Regions from separate parts of the Homo sapiens genome. Here region 2 is linked to region 1. Evidence: promoter capture Hi-C in 16 types of primary human blood cells and fetal thymus (Javierre and others, 2016). All regions are on one chromosome and are shown on one strand. The core of a region is centred on a gene start or on the middle of the fragment in contact, and the rest is flanking DNA. Distances in the headings are between cores, read along the strand shown. Region 1 holds the start of HSD3B7 (hydroxy-delta-5-steroid dehydrogenase, 3 beta- and steroid delta-isomerase 7). Region 2 overlaps ITGAM (integrin subunit alpha M).

Region 1 (4,629 bases), core at 2,130-4,629:
GTGGTCCCAGCTACCCAGGAGGCTGAGGTGGGAGGATCACTCGAGACCACGAGGTGGAGGCTGCTGTGAGCCAAGATTGCACCACTGCACTCCAGCCTGGGCAACAGGGTGAGACCGTGTCTCTAGAAAAAACAAAAGCCAAAAGGATGGCATTTGGTATTAACAAGATCTTAACAAGATCTGGGGAGTTGGGCTATGGGAACACACACCTGGGGGGCCTAAGACCTTCCAGAGACCATGGTGCTTGAGTAAAGCTGAAAGGAGCTCGCAGGCCCAGACAAGTGGTAGTGTGTGTGCGCTTGGTTGCGAGACACCATGTGCACAAACCTGGAGGCACGGTCGTCTTGTGAGAGTGTGGAGGTCAGCTTGGCTCATTAGAAACCAGGGCCATGGCCAGGCGCGGTGGCTCATGCCTGTAATCCGAGCACTTTGGGAGGCTGAGGCAGGCAGATCACCTGAGGTCAGGAGTTCGAGACCAGCCTGGCCAGCATGCTAAAACCCCGTCTCTACTAAAAATACAAAAATTAGCCAGGCGTGGTGGCAGGCGCCTGTAATCCCAGCTACTAGGGAGGCTGAGGCAGGAGAATCGCTTGGACCTGGGAGGCAGAGGTTGCAGTGAGCCAAGATCGCGCCATTGCACTCCAGCCTGGGCGACAGAGCAAGACTCCGTCTCAAAAAAAAAAAAAAGAAAAGAAAAAACAGGGTCAGTGGCAGCGACGTGTGGCTGGAGGGAACAGAGAGCCCAGACCGCACGGGCTTGGGAGCCTGTGAATCCACTTGGGCCTGTGGTGAGAGAGGAGGAAAGTCCCGGAGCTTTCTTCAGGAGAGGGTCCTTCCGCAGGAGAGGGTCCTTCCGCAGGAGAGGGCCCCATGGCTAGTGAGCTCCATGTCTAGGCTGACACCAGTATCCAGGCAAAGGCAAGGGTGGCCCGACCCAAGCAGTGGCAGCAGAGGTGACAGAGAGGAGGCTTTGGGTGCAAGGTGGTTGGCTGGGCTCAGCAGTGAGAGGGTGAGGGGGACGGGAGGCCCTCTCTCGGTGCTGCTCTTAGCTGCTGGGAGTATGATGGGAGGGCCAGTGAGATGGGTGTGAGGAGGAAGAACAAATATATGGTCAAGATGAGCTCCAGTCTGGACATGTGGGGTTGCAATGCCCCAGGGACATCTAGGGGATGACGCCCAGCAGCTCCACTGAGGTGGCTTTTGGCTGGAAATGGAAGTTTGGGAGGAGTCCCCACCACATAGCTGGCGGCTGAGGCTCTGGAAGGGAGTGAGGTCACCCGAGGAGGGCGTGCAGAGGCTCCTCACTGTCTTCTGGGAAGTAAGGGTTGCTCCTCACACGGAGGTGCGGGGCCTGACATGGGCGGCCTGCCATTTGCATTAGCCGGTGGCAGCCAACAGGTGCCTGTTTTGGAGAGAGGTCCAGGGAGGAGAGATGAGCAGGGTGCCGTTGGTGACATGGCCAGTCATTTCAGGAGCTGCCCCAACCCCAGACTTGCCCCAGCAGTCCGGGACCCCACTGTGACCAGGCAGATGCTCGAAGGAGTCAGTGGCTCTCTTACCCAGTGCAGATTTCCCTGGAGTTCCCTGCGGGTGACTTAGAATGGCCACCAGAGGCTTAGGATGCTGCCCCAAAGAGGGAGGGCTCCTGGAAGCAGAGTCGAGAGAGTCAGTGCCGGGTTAGCGGGAGCTGGAGGCAGAGCTGCAGCTCCAGGCCTGGTGGGCGTGGACCTGGGGTGCTGGCTGGCAGGCGTGCTCAGGGGCAGGAAGTGGGGGACTCTTCCCTGACCATCGCATCTCACCCTGGCAGATGGTGGCCGACATGCGGGAGAAGCGCTACGTGCAGGAGGGCATTGGCAGCAGCTACCTGTTCCGGGTGGACCACGACACCATCATCGATGCCACCAAGTGTGGCAACCTGGCCAGATTCATCAACCACTGCTGCACGGTGCGCCAGGGGCCAGCCGGGGCAGGAGTTGGGGGTCGGTGGGGGTGGCCACGGCTCACACGCCCTTCCATCCGCAGCCTAACTGCTACGCCAAGGTCATCACCATCGAGTCCCAGAAGAAGATCGTGATCTACTCCAAGCAGCCCATTGGCGTGGACGAGGAGATCACCTACGACTACAAGTTCCCACTGGAAGACAACAAGATCCCGTGTCTGTGTGGCACAGAGAGCTGCCGGGGCTCCCTAAACTGAGGTGGGGCAGGATGGGTGCCCACACCCCTATTTATTCCCCCTGGTGCCCTGAGCTCCCAGCACCCCCCCAGCCTTAGTGGGCTCAGCAGGGCCCACATGCCCCCATCTCCAAGCGTGGGGTTGGGGGCCCCAAGCCCAGCGAGGGAGCCTCAGTCCCTGGAGGCAGCTTCTGCCTCTCCTGTCACCCCTGCCCACCACCCCCTGATTGTTTTTCTTTGCGGAGAAGAAGCTGTAAATGTTTTGTAGCAGCCAGCAGCTGTTTCCTGTGGAAACCTGGGGTGCCGGCCTGTACAGATTCTGTCCTGGGGGGCTACACAGTCCTCTTGCTTTGTGTTAATGGGGACTTCCCCTTACGCCCTGCGTGTACCCCTCCCCAGTTTAGGGGTCTCTGGGGCAGTGGCCATGTTCTCCCCCTGGGGGGGCTCTGCACCCCCAGTCCTGGGGACTCCGTGCCTGGAACCCTGCCTCATCTGTTCCTGCCAGACCCTGAGGGTCACCCTTCCACCCTGGTGTCACTCCCCGGCTCAGCCAGGCCAGGATGGCGGGGTGGGTCCCTTTTGCTGGGCTGGACTGTACATATGTTAATAGCGCAAACCCGACGCCACATTTTTATAATTGTGATTAAACTTTATTGTACAAAAGTGTTTGGTCGGTGTATTTGGGCAGGAGCGAGGGGTTGGGGGTAGAGGGCACGGAGGGTTGTGCAAGTTGAAGAGAGGGAAAAGTGGGTACCTGAAGTGTGGGGCAGGTAAAGGGGCCTTCAGGCAAGAGCCCAGACCTGCAGAGACAGTCCGAGACTGTCTCGGACCCCCTGACAGGCTGCAGCAGCCGCACCCGCACCAGGAATACCCCACCAGTGCCCGCCAGGGTGGTGCCAAGGTCAGGCCTCCCCTTCCTACAATCACAGCTGCAGCTGGACCTCCGGCCTCCTGGGAAGCCCAGCAGGAGGGAAGGCCTGAGGTCACACTGTGGGATGAGGTCACCGCTGGCTCCACCCACAGCCCCAGACCCCTTCAGCCCACTCTGCAAGTTCGAGCTTCATCCCCACCAAGTTCTCCGCTGGACCCAGATGCCAGTGGAGCACAGAGCGGCCGCCAGGGGGCGCCTTGGGGCAAGAGTGGTGGGGGTTGTGGCTGGGCGGGTCTCTGTTCCTGGAATGGGGCAGGAGGGAGAAGGAGGAGCCAGCGGAAGGACGGTGTGCGGGCCGGCCAGCCCTGGACGAAAGAAGAGGGCCCCTCCAGGCCAGTCTGGGCACCCTGGGATAGCGGCTGCAGGTAGGCAGAGGCGCTGCCAGTGCCCAGGTGGCCTTTCCCTCCATCCGGCCCTTCCCACCTTCCTATAACCTTCCCTCCACCTCCCTCAACTCCTGGCCTCCCCACCCTTTTACTGCCTTCAAATCTCTCTCCCTAAACCCTGACCCCTTCCTGCACCCCAAGCCCGCCCCTCTCTCCGTAACTCAGCCATCAGCAGGGGCAGACGGCAGGTGGCCTGGTTGCTGCAGCTCCCAGGATCAGCTCTGCCCTCCCCGCAAACGCCAGCCTCGTCACCGCTCCAGGGCACCTCCAGCAGTAACAGGTGGTTGCAGCAGGTGGCAGCCAGCCCCTGGATGAGCCAAGGTCTCTTCCCCAGCCAGGCATGGCCGACTCTGCACAGGCCCAGAAGCTGGTGTACCTGGTCACAGGGGGCTGTGGCTTCCTGGGAGAGCACGTGGTGCGAATGCTGCTGCAGCGGGAGCCCCGGCTCGGGGAGCTGCGGGTCTTTGACCAACACCTGGGTCCCTGGCTGGAGGAGCTGAAGACAGGTTCTTGTTGGGGGAGCTTGTGGTGGAGAGGGTGTGGACGCTTCCCCAACCCTTCCCAAGCTGGGATCCCCACCCCTGCAGTGGAACAGATGATGCTGGTTTCTGTCCACATGGATGGGTCGAGTGAGTCACATTGGGAACGTGACTCCAGGGTGGAAGATGAACCCAGCCTCTGGCCTCTGGCCCCAGCTCTGACATGGCCTGTGTCCTCCAACCCCGGCCAGGGCCTGTGAGGGTGACTGCCATCCAGGGGGACGTGACCCAGGCCCATGAGGTGGCAGCAGCTGTGGCCGGAGCCCATGTGGTCATCCACACGGCTGGGCTGGTAGACGTGTTTGGCAGGGCCAGTCCCAAGACCATCCATGAGGTCAACGTGCAGGGTGAGGAGCTCTGGACACTCCTGGCCATCTTGCCTGTTTGTTCCCCACTCTGTCTTTGGCCTTGACCTCCGGTGACTCCCCTGGGACAAGTTGTCCTATTGACAGCCCTGCCCCCGCCTCCCCTGACCTGTCATGGTTTTCCCTGGACCTGGGATGGGGAGGAGGAAGATGCAGAGAGGGAAGAAGCTGCAGCTTGGATACGCCTCCTCCTCTGCCAGGTACCCGGAACGTGATCGAGGCTTGTGTGCAGAC
Region 2 (4,629 bases), core at 993-3,492, 280 kb after region 1:
TTTGTAGAGATGGGGTTTCACCTTGTTGCCCAGGCTGGTCTCGAATTCCTGGGCTCAAGAGATCTTCCCACCTCAGCCTCCCACAGTGCTGGGATCACAGGTGTGAGCCACTGCGCCTGGCCCAGCATCTCTTGAATCACTTGTTTTCTCTCTAGGACAATTAACTTCCCCCTTCCTCTGGCTGTAAACACTCTTCATTCTATCTGTATCTGAAAAGCAATCAACCACCACAATCGATAGCCATGAAAACAATCTTCTCTCTTCCAGTCTCCTCCTCATCTCCTGCCATCTCTCCTCACCCTCACCACCCAAGCTTCCTGAGTGCATTCTCTTCACCCCCGGCTGGCCTCCAGCTTCCCTCTCCACCTAGGGGCACTGGGTTCTGGGTTCTCTTTTCACCCACGTGTTCTTCTTTCCTGAAATCACCCAGTTCTGTGGCTTCAGCTAACACTTCTACCTCTCCCTCTTTAGACCTCACTCTCAGGGTTCAAGACTACTTCTTTAAAAAAGTTTTCATTTATTAAAAAATATATAATACATACACTTGGTTCAAAATTCGAAAGGGTGCGGTAGCTCACACCTGTAATTCCAGCACTTTGGGAGGTCAAGGCAGGAGGATTGTTTGAGGCCAGGAGTTTGGGACCAGCCTAGACAACATAATGAGACCCCATCTCTACAAAAAATGCAATTAGCCAGGCATGGTGGCGTGTGCCTGTGGTCTTAGCTATTCAGGAGGCCTCCCAAAGTGCTGGGGTTACAGGCATGAGCCACTGTGCCCTGCCAGTCTTTCTAAAATACAAAACAAATCATCTCACTTCCTTTTCTAAGAACCTTCTGTGGCTCCCCATTGCCTACAGATAAAGTCGAGCTCCTTATTGGAGTAGAAAGGCCCTTGCCCGCTGCTCTTTGCTTGATGCCACCGCTGTGTCTCCATCGCCGTCACATACGTTTGTCCCTGTAGTGCTGTTTCCATCAAACGGCATTCCTGGATTCTGCCAGAATCCTTTTGAGGCCCTTGTCCCATATATCAGTAGGAGTCTCAACTGGGACCAAAAGCACATTCCAGTAATGTAACTGCCCAAGGGGTTCACCTTGCTTGCTGCCTAGACAGAGCCGATTCATCAAGACAGCAGAATTGCGATAGAGAAAGAATAATTCACACAGAGCCAGCTATGCAGGGGACCAGAGTTTTATTATCACTCGAATCAGTCTCCTCGAGCATTTGGGGGCAGAGTTTTTGAGGATAACTTGGTAGGTCGCGGGGGAAGCCAGTGAGCTGGGAGTGCTGATTGATCAGGGATGAAATCATCGGGAGTCGGAGCTGTCTTCTTGCGTTCAGTTGGTTCCTGGGTGGGGGCAGCAAGATCGGATGAACCAGTTTATTGATCTGGGCAGTGCCAGCTGATCCATCAAGTGCAAGGTCTGCAAAATATCTCAAGCACTGATTTTAGGAGCAGTTTAGGGAGGGTCAGAATCTTGTAGCCTCCAGCTGCATGACTCCTAAATCATAATTTCTCATCTTGTGGCTAACGTTAGTCCTACAAAGGCAATCTAGTCCCCAGGTAAGAAGGAGGTCTGCTTTGGGAAAGGGCTGTTACGATCTTTGTTTAAACTATAAACTATAAACTATAAACTAAGTGTCTCCCAAAGTTAGCTCAGCCTACACCCAGGAATGAACACGGACAGCTTGGAGGTTAGAAGCAAGATGGAATCAGTTAAGTTAGATCTCTTTCACTGTCTCAGTCATAATTTTGCAAAGGCGGTTTCAGTAAGATTTATTTACAAAGAGGGGGGTTTATTTATAAAGGGAGTAATTATAAAGCTGTGACAGGCCTAAGGGAGCCATCAGGGACTTTCCAAGCCCTGGGCAAGCAGGTCTGTTGCCACCCCTGGGTTTATGGGTTGAGGAGAGGGAGAGCTCACCAGGGTCTGGAGAGAGTCATGTGGAGCTGGCTTCCTTCTGAGGAACAGTTGGTCTTTTGTGAAGGACATAGCTGTCCCCAAACAACCTCAATGGGAGAACACCCGGACCTCACTGCCCTCCTCCCTCTAGTCTTCTGTTGAGCCCCCTCATCTGCCAAATCCAATGGGAATCCAGAGGGCAACAGAGTCCTGGTGATGGGGTCCCTGCAGGTTGACCTCCCAGGCCACAGAGCTGAGCGGCAATGGGTAGAAAGTGGATTTGGGGATGGGGCAGAAGGCAGAGGAGCACATTCCACATCACTTTATATGTGTGTGCCCTTCCCTTTTCTAGAATCTACTCCTTTTGTATATCTGGCAAATCCTTCCTTCCTTCCTTCCTTCCTTCCTCCTTTGCTTTCCTTTCCTTTCCTTTCCTTTCCTTTCCTTTCCTTTCCTTTCCTTTCCTTTTTTTCTTCCTTTCTTCCTTTTCTTCGAAGTCTTGCTCTGTGACCCAGGCTGGAGTGCAGTGGTGCGATCTCAGCTACTTTTTGTATTTTTAATAGAGATAGGGTTTCACCATGTCAGCCAGGCTGGTCTCAAACTCCTGATCTCAAGTGATCCACCTGCCTCAGCCTCCCAAAGTGCTGGGATTACAGGTGTGAGCCACCTCGCCCAGCTGGGCAAATTATTTCCTGTTCTTCAAGATTCAGTCAAACATCACCACATTCCCTGATTCCCTTGGGCAGAATTAACGAAAATTTTCCATACCACTTTGTCCTTGTTTATTTACTTATTTATTTATTTTTAAGAGACAGGGTCTTTCTCTGTGGCCCAGGCTGGAGTGCAATGGCGTGATCATAGCTCACTGAAGCCTCAACCTTTTGGGCTGAAGTGATCCCCCACCCTCAGCCTCCTGAGTAGCTGGGACTACAGGCATGTGCCAACATGCCTGACTAATTTTTAACGTGTGTGTGTGTATATATATATATATATATATATATATATATATATATATATATATGTTTTTAACGTGTGTATACATATATATATATACACACACGTTAAAAATTATATATATATTATACATAATTTATATATATATTTAACATCTATATTTTTTATAGAGACGGGGTCCTATATTCTCATTGTTCAGCAGAGGGCTGACATGCAAAAAAACCCAAAACACCAAGTGTCAAATTACTTGATTCATACTCTTTTCCCCTTCCCCAGGGTGTCCTCAAGAGGATAGTGACATTGCCTTCTTGATTGATGGCTCTGGTAGCATCATCCCACATGACTTTCGGCGGATGAAGGAGTTTGTCTCAACTGTGATGGAGCAATTAAAAAAGTCCAAAACCTTGGTGAGGGCCCAGGGGTAGGTTAGGGAAGAGCCCACACGGGGCTGGAAGATACATGGCAACCGGGCCACCATGTTCTCCTCCCAGTTCAACTGCAGACATTGCCAAATTGACGATCGATTATGGTTTGCCTTCCTGAGTCTCTTTTCTGCTCTGTTGGATGCAGCCTCAGCATTCTTTCAGCCTTTTATAAAGCGGGCAGCTCTAATTGTTAAGGTTGGCATGGGAGATGAAGCCCACGTGTCATTGCTGGCTGAGTTCTATTTTCATTTTTATTTCTTATTTTTTTGAGACAGAATCTCACTCTTTCTCTCAGGCTGGAGTGCAGTGGTGTGATCTTGGCTCACTGCAACCTCCGCCTCCCGGGTTCAAGCAATTCTCTTGCCTCAGCCTCCCGAGTAGCGGGGATTACAGGCGCATGCCACCATGCCTGGCTAGTTTTTGTATTTTTAGTAGAGACGGGGTTTCACCATTTTGGCCAGGCTGGTCTCAAACTCCTGACCTCAGGTGATCCACCCGCCTCGGCTTCCCAAAGTGCTGGGATTACAGGTGTGAGCCACTGCTCCCGGCCGCTGGCCGTGTTCTAGTATTGAGGAGAGATGGGAGCTGCTGGCAGCTCTCCGTCCTGGTGAGGCAGGGGATTAGGGGCAGCACAGAGGAGGAATTTGGAGAGTGGAGTGTTTAAGATCTTCGTGGAGCTTGCTGGGAGATGTCTGAGGGGTGGGGGCACCTTCTCCAGCATCACACCAGCCGCCCCCTCCGCAGTTCTCTTTGATGCAGTACTCTGAAGAATTCCGGATTCACTTTACCTTCAAAGAGTTCCAGAACAACCCTAACCCAAGATCACTGGTGAAGCCAATAACGCAGCTGCTTGGGCGGACACACACGGCCACGGGCATCCGCAAAGTGGTGTAAGCTTCCCCTTTTCCCTTAGGATGGAGGGAGGAGGAGACACTTTTAGCTGGGCTTTGATGGATGAAGGGAGCCGTTCAGACAGGGGTGGTAGAGGATGCTTCCCCACCGGCAGAGGTGGGGAGGCTGTGCGTGGTGTGTTCATCAAAGGACAAGTTGTGAGTGAAAGGTGGGAGTGGAGTGGGGAAGTGAGGGAAAGGTGTCTGGAGGGAAGCTACAAAGATCAGCTCAGGCCAGGGAGCCAAAGGCAGCTTTACAGCCTGTGGTGAGATATCGCCATGTCTCATTTTGGGAAGTTCACTCTGATTTTGAGGTGGGTGTAGAGGCAAGGATGGGGTTGGGACAGAAGTACAAGAAGCACTGGAGAGTCCTAGAGGGGCTGGGGAGCTGGTGCAGTGCTCTGGGAGAGGTTTCCTGAAGGCCAATTAACTATATATATATATATATATATATATAT

What was found. Contacts are between HindIII fragments. The CHiCAGO score rates a contact against its expected background, and 5 or more counts as called.
Region 2: a contact is called between a fragment that was not itself captured here and the fragment with the promoter of HSD3B7 in region 1, in 1 of 17 cell types (neutrophils). The highest score is 6.2, in neutrophils.

What each region holds. Positions count from the first base shown.
Region 1 is chr16:30,981,828-30,986,456 of GRCh38, forward strand. It overlaps HSD3B7 (hydroxy-delta-5-steroid dehydrogenase, 3 beta- and steroid delta-isomerase 7), which reads left to right and starts at 3,380. Exons shown (of 7, transcript NM_025193.4): 1 at 3,380-3,470; 2 at 3,826-3,997; 3 at 4,222-4,377; 4 at 4,596-4,629. The coding sequence starts at 3,832. SETD1A (SET domain containing 1A, histone lysine methyltransferase) reads left to right here. Exons shown (of 19, transcript NM_014712.3): 18 at 1,808-1,945; 19 at 2,023-2,837. The coding sequence ends at 2,196. RefSeq lists an enhancer at 2,849-3,361. The HindIII fragment of the contact is 29,451 bases long and covers 1-4,629 here.
Region 2 is chr16:31,267,822-31,272,450 of GRCh38, forward strand. ITGAM (integrin subunit alpha M) reads left to right here. Exons shown (of 30, transcript NM_000632.4): 6 at 3,133-3,263; 7 at 4,026-4,171. Among named protein-coding and RNA genes, the nearest start is that of ITGAM, 10 kb to the left of the region's middle. RefSeq lists enhancers at 3,461-3,986, 3,987-4,512. The HindIII fragment of the contact is 3,863 bases long and covers 312-4,174 here.